Regions from separate parts of the Homo sapiens genome. Here region 2 is linked to region 1. Evidence: promoter capture Hi-C in human tissues and cell types (Jung and others, 2019). All regions are on one chromosome and are shown on one strand. The core of a region is centred on a gene start or on the middle of the fragment in contact, and the rest is flanking DNA. Distances in the headings are between cores, read along the strand shown. Region 1 holds the start of NR6A1 (nuclear receptor subfamily 6 group A member 1). Region 2 overlaps NR6A1 (nuclear receptor subfamily 6 group A member 1).

Region 1 (2,700 bases), core at 5-2,504:
GGACGAGCGGTAGGAAGGGCCGGGCCAGGTGAGGGATTCTCAGCTCCCAAGGTCCCGGATCGGGACAAGAAAGAGGAGAACTGAGACTAAGAGGTGGGGACCGGGACCTGCCGGGCAGAAGCCGGGAGGAGGCAGGTGTCCGGGGCCCCGGGGCGGGCTGGAGCCCTCGGCCAGGGAAAGCCGTTGCCTGGCGGAGAGGGGAGCTGAGCAGGGGCGGAGACCGGCCAGAGCGCGCGGGGCGTTGAGGAAGGTGAGGCGCAGGGGAAGCAGGAGGCGCGAAGGGGTCCGAAAAAGGAAACGACTGGGGGATGTCTAGCGAACGGGGGTTCGGCAGAGGTGGGGGGCTCGTAGTATTCAAGGAAGAACGCTCGAGGCTGCAGAAGAGGAAAACGCTCTAGAAAGCTGAGCGGTACAAGGGTGCTGTGGAGTCGGGTCAACAGGGCAAGAAGGGAGCGTCCTCGGTGGGAGGAGGAACCCCTGTAGGGGAAAAGAGAGGCTCTGCGTTAAGGGAACCCGAGTGAGGGGATGCCCCCACTGACGGACCGCGGTGGGGACTTCCAACCTGAGGAGCCCGGGGGGAGGGGAAGGTTCGGTGCTGGGAAGACAGGGGGAGGGGACCCGGGGGGAGGAGGGAGGATTGGTGCTGAGGGGACGGGGGGAGGGGAAGCCTGTGCAGAGGGGACGGGGGGAGGGGGAAATGAAGCTCGGTGCCCAGGGACCCGGGCAGGGGGAGGGTCCGCGCAGAAGGGAACAGGGACGAAGGAGGAGGATCCACCCTGAGCGAGACCGGGGAGGAGAGGGAGGGTCCGCGCCAACGGGGAACGGGGTGAAGGGCCACCCTAAGGGGCCGCGGGGCCGCTGCGGCTTCCCAGGGCGAGGGTCGGCAGAGAGGAGGGGGATCCCTGGCGGAGGCTCAGGAAGCCGGTTCCTGCCTGGCCCGGGCGTCGCAGGCCCCTCACCCACCGTTGCGCGGCGGCGGAGGGAGCGCGGCGGGAGGCTCCAGGAACCCCGCCGAGCCCCCGCCGCCTCCCCCTCCGCTAGGCGGCGGTTCGTCCCGCTCCATGCGGTGGTGCCTAGGGTCCGCGCCGGGTTTGTTGCTCCGCCATGACCGGCGCCCTAGTCGCCGTGGTCGTCGTCCGCCGAGGGGAGGAGGTTGTCAGGAGCCCGCGAGCTCCCGGCCGCGGCTCTCTCTGGGCCCCGAGCCGCCCGGCTCCGCGCCGCTCCGCGCCCCTCCGCGCCGCGCCCCCTCAGCACTGGCCAGCTCCCTCCCCTGACGTCACACGCCGCTGCCGCGCAAGGCCCTGCGGGGCACGCTGGAAGTTGGAGTCCGCTCAGCGAGGCCGGCCACGCCGACCGCACCAACTGAAGGGGTGGAAGGAGGGATAAGAAGTCCTGAGAAGGGAAAGCTAAAGTCTGTCAATATCAAGAACCATGACAAAGCGTTTGATGTCTATGTAGTAAGCGGATACTTCCGGGCCTTGTCTTGATTGTGATTTCTACCTGATCAAAGTTCCCTAAGAGTCCTCGTAACCCCCCACCCCAACAATGAGTCTTTGCGAGGAGGTGGATCGCGAGGCAGCCGGGTGAGCACGTGCAACGAAGCCCAGCCCTGTGGGCGGGGCCCTGGAGGCGGGGCTTGAAGGTACTCACGTGGGCCTCTCCCTGCCGCTGCGGGACAAATTGGACCGGAGATTAAAGGACCGGAGTTTAACTCGAGGTGACTGCGTTCGTATGCAAATGGAATATATAAAACTCTTCTTTCCGGGGTAGTCTTTAAAGACTTTTTACCTCCGGGTGGGCGGCAAAGACTAAAGTTTCCCCTCCTCCCCTTTCATTTTCCCCCTGCCCATAGAACAGATGGGCAAACTAAGCTCCGGGCCATTGGGGCTATTAAAGAAAGCCCTAGGCTCTTGACCCCAGGTGTCTTGAAACCTTCCGTTTAAGAGGGATCCCTTGCCCAGCCTTGTTTGCCTTCCCCTTTCCTCAGTTTCCCTATCTGTAAAAGGGGGTTGGAATAAGGACAGGATCAAGTTGGAAGATCGCAAACCCCTGCCCCTCCCACCTCAGTTTCCCGAAGCTTTCCGGAAGCAAAATCCCGAATTTTGCAGCGGCTCCCGGCCGAATCCACCCGCTGCGGCCACCAGGTGGCGCGCGGCCACCGGTCACTAGGCCCGCCGGGGTGTCCGTCTTCGGCGACCCCATCGGGAAAGGATTTCGCTGCTGCCGCCAAGGGTCTAAGGCCTACCTGGCCCACTTGAAGACAAAGAACGAGAACGTTGGTGCTTTGCCCACTTCTGCTCTGCCGGATTATGCTGCAGCTTCCTCGGTGGCCGCTCATTCGCCCTCTCCTGCCCCACCCGCCCCACCAATCCCTTAGCCCTTTTATTTTTTTTTTGCCTAATTTTAAGTCCTCGTCCTGGCATTCGCATCCCTGCTTGGCCTGACCCTTGCCCACATTTCGCACCATACCCCGTCCCTCACCTGCTACGAAAGTTGCAACGCTTCTCTGCACTTGGGGGCAACTGGACCTTACCAACCCTGGTGAAACTGTATTTCATACGTAATCTGGGAGACTTACATTAACGCTCTGCCGTCTAAACCTCATACCTGCTCTATGAGATAGCAACAATATTGTCCCTTTCCAGCACTGATGAAGTCCACCAGAAGTGATGGGGATTCCAGCTCCATTCTGTCACACAC
Region 2 (2,700 bases), core at 140-2,639, 46 kb before region 1:
AAATCTAAATGCTCAACAATAGGAGGATGGTTAAATAAATCATGATAAAGCTATTTACTTATTTAATGAAATATCCTTCCGTTAAAAACATTTGTGAAAATCGTTTCATGACTTGGGACAATGTTCCCAATGTAATACAGAGTGGGGGAAAACAAACAGGATACAAAAATTGCATATATAGTATAGATTCCTAATTATGTAAAAGATGAGCTCGGACACAACCTGGAAGGACATACTCTCAAACGTGAAGCAATGGTTATTTCTAGGTGGTGGGATTAGAGATGCTTCTATTTTCTTTTAGTGTTTTCCATAGTGAACCATACATTATTCTACTACCAGTTTAAACAAAAACAATGTTTTTTTCTTTTAATCAAGCTACACCAAGATCCTCAACCAGCTGGTAAAAAAAGAGAAAAAAAAAAACCACACAGCTAAAAAGCTTCTAATATGTCTAACTTCAAGCAGGTACTTTCCTTGGGATTATATCCTTTGAACATCAGACAACATAGCACATACCAAAAAAAAAAAAAAATTCAATCTTCAACTTTGGAAACTGAATTAAAGTAAGTACTTTCAATTTTGGTCAATGTTTACTCTCAGTGTAATTACTTGTAGGATTATGTTACAAGAGGAGAAATGGACTTCATTATATGTAAGCCAAAAATTCAGGAACAGTATTTCTGAAATAGATAATAAGAGACAAAAAGTTTGGCGAGGAAGAACAGCTGTTGCTAATCCAACTATTTACCCTTTGACCCTCTATCTGGCCAGTAACCGAACACTATCAACTGTTTCCCTTTATTATGTGCTGTTTACAATCCCTGAGAGGCATGAAAGGAATTAATAATTTAGCCTAGAAAGCTGACAGCCTTTATTGGGAAGCCCCTTGTCTATGGGACAGAAATCAGAGCAAGTCCTGAAGTCACAGGTCCCTTTACTGTTCCTGTTTTATAGCCTAACTGGCCCCCAAACATAAATCAATTATTTCTCCTGTTTTAAGCAACAATGACTTCTATTCTCTAACTTCCCTTGTATCAAGTCGGTCCTTGTTCTCTTGAGTTTTACAGCTACACGGTAAACACGACGGCCGAGGAAAAAACTCGGGGAGCAGGGCAGACAGGGGTTATTTGGAAACAGAAGCACAGAAAGGTTATGCTGTTTTGAACTTCTCTTGACCTTTGACTGCCCTTGTCCCTAGCTTATGCTAATGGACATGGTACAGGGACACTTCTTGTAGAAATGAACTTAGCCTGAACCTGTGCCATAACATTGGACTCCAGGAAGTCCAGGAATCATAGGAAGGCAGCCAGAGTGTGAACAGCTGCCCATATTCTGAGCATGGCTGCCCATCTGCTTTATCACACTAAAGGTATTTAAAAAAAAAGAAAAAAAAAAAGCCAAGCCATTTAATTGGACAAAGTCAGTCTTTCCTCAACTAGTTCCCACATGACACCTGCTGTCCCAAACCTGCTGCCTACAACCACTGCCATGCACAACTGGAAATTAGCAACGAAGTATTTCCTGTTCCAAAATAAGGGAGTGTGAGCAGGCTTTCCTATCAGGAATCTGGGGAATGGGGGGCAATATTTGGGCCTCCAAATTCCAAAGATACAACACAAGGAAATCTGTAATATCCTCAAAAGTCATGCGGGGCTCGGCCTGGTAATCCCAGCACTTTGGGAGACCAAGGCAGGAGGATCACTTGAGCCCAGGAGTTTGAGACCAGCCTGGAGAGCATGGCAAAAATTCGTCTCTAGTCAACTTAAGAGAAAAATACCAAATTTTAAAAACTTTTTAAAATACTGACAAATTCGGATCAAATTTGAGGGAATAAAAAATGTTAGACCAAAGGAGTTTGCTGGTTGTGTCATTATTTAATGATCAAAGTATAGTGTGTATGCCTTGTAACAGACTTGTTGACTACAGGCTTAATGTAAATGAGAATCTTGCCAGATGTAGCTACTTAAGGGAAAAGAAGGGTTTTTAACAGAAATGAACTTTTGATTAGTTCTTACATTTTTATGGTACCAATCACAGGGCAAAATTTCCTGAATATTGGGTGATGTCAAAGGCATATCATACTTGAGGAAATCAGGCCAAGTATAGCTCAGTAATTACATTCATAAACACTCAAGTTTTTTTAGTTGGGGTCATGTCAAACCCTCACATCGTTGTTAAGTAGTGACTGTAACTGTGTATGTCCTTAGTGGTAGGTGAGCACCAGTCTCCATGACCAAAAATGTCCCCTAAAATCCTTTGAAAAAGCCACTAGTTCTGTGAATTGTCCTTCTCCCTCCTGCCCCTAACTGTCCTGCACCTCTAGCCTACATTAGCATATTTCTCATGTAATGTATTTTGCTGGTAAGTTCATCGGTTAGCTGCATCCTTCAGCTATTCCTTTATATTGGGGAGCAAAACCTTTAGATTGGAGGAAGTGGAGATGAAGATGGATTGATTCAGCTCACGTTCCATGATTGCTTCTTAGTGAAAAGCTACATCGGCCACATTTCAGATTTTCACTTTTGCAATTTGGGGAGGGTGGAGAGAGGTAGACTTTTTGCTTGTTTTATAAAGTCCTCTCAGTAAGGAGTGTTTGAGTTGAAGAGGCATCTAATTCGAGACCACTCATGTTCTTTGTAACTTAAGCTTTGACCAAGAAATTCTTCACTTCTTCTCACTTCTTCACTTCTTCCCAATATA

What was found. The method cuts DNA at HindIII sites, captures the fragments that hold promoters and counts their contacts. A contact is called where the count stands out against the background at its distance.
Region 2: a fragment that was not itself captured here is called in contact with the fragment with the promoter of NR6A1 in region 1 in 1 of the 25 tissues and cell types used here (mesenchymal stem cells).

What each region holds. Positions count from the first base shown.
Region 1 is chr9:124,770,057-124,772,756 of GRCh38, forward strand. It overlaps NR6A1 (nuclear receptor subfamily 6 group A member 1), which reads right to left and starts at 1,255. Exons shown (of 10, transcript NM_033334.4): 1 at 964-1,255. The coding sequence starts at 1,063. LOC124900274 (a long non-coding RNA gene) reads right to left here and starts at 424. Exons shown (of 2, transcript XR_007061773.1): 1 at 1-424. LOC107987126 (a long non-coding RNA gene) reads left to right here and starts at 1,301. Exons shown (of 2, transcript XR_001746926.3): 1 at 1,301-1,717; 2 at 2,646-2,700. RefSeq lists silencers at 1-204, 745-1,324 and enhancers at 1,037-1,604, 1,395-1,654. The HindIII fragment of the contact is 6,332 bases long and covers 1-2,700 here.
Region 2 is chr9:124,724,018-124,726,717 of GRCh38, forward strand. All of the region lies in intron 2 of NR6A1 (nuclear receptor subfamily 6 group A member 1), which reads right to left. It overlaps LOC124902269 (a long non-coding RNA gene), which reads right to left. Exons shown (of 2, transcript XR_007061772.1): 1 at 1-2,700. Among named protein-coding and RNA genes, the nearest start is that of MIR181B2, 32 kb to the left of the region's middle. The HindIII fragment of the contact is 4,902 bases long and covers 1-2,700 here.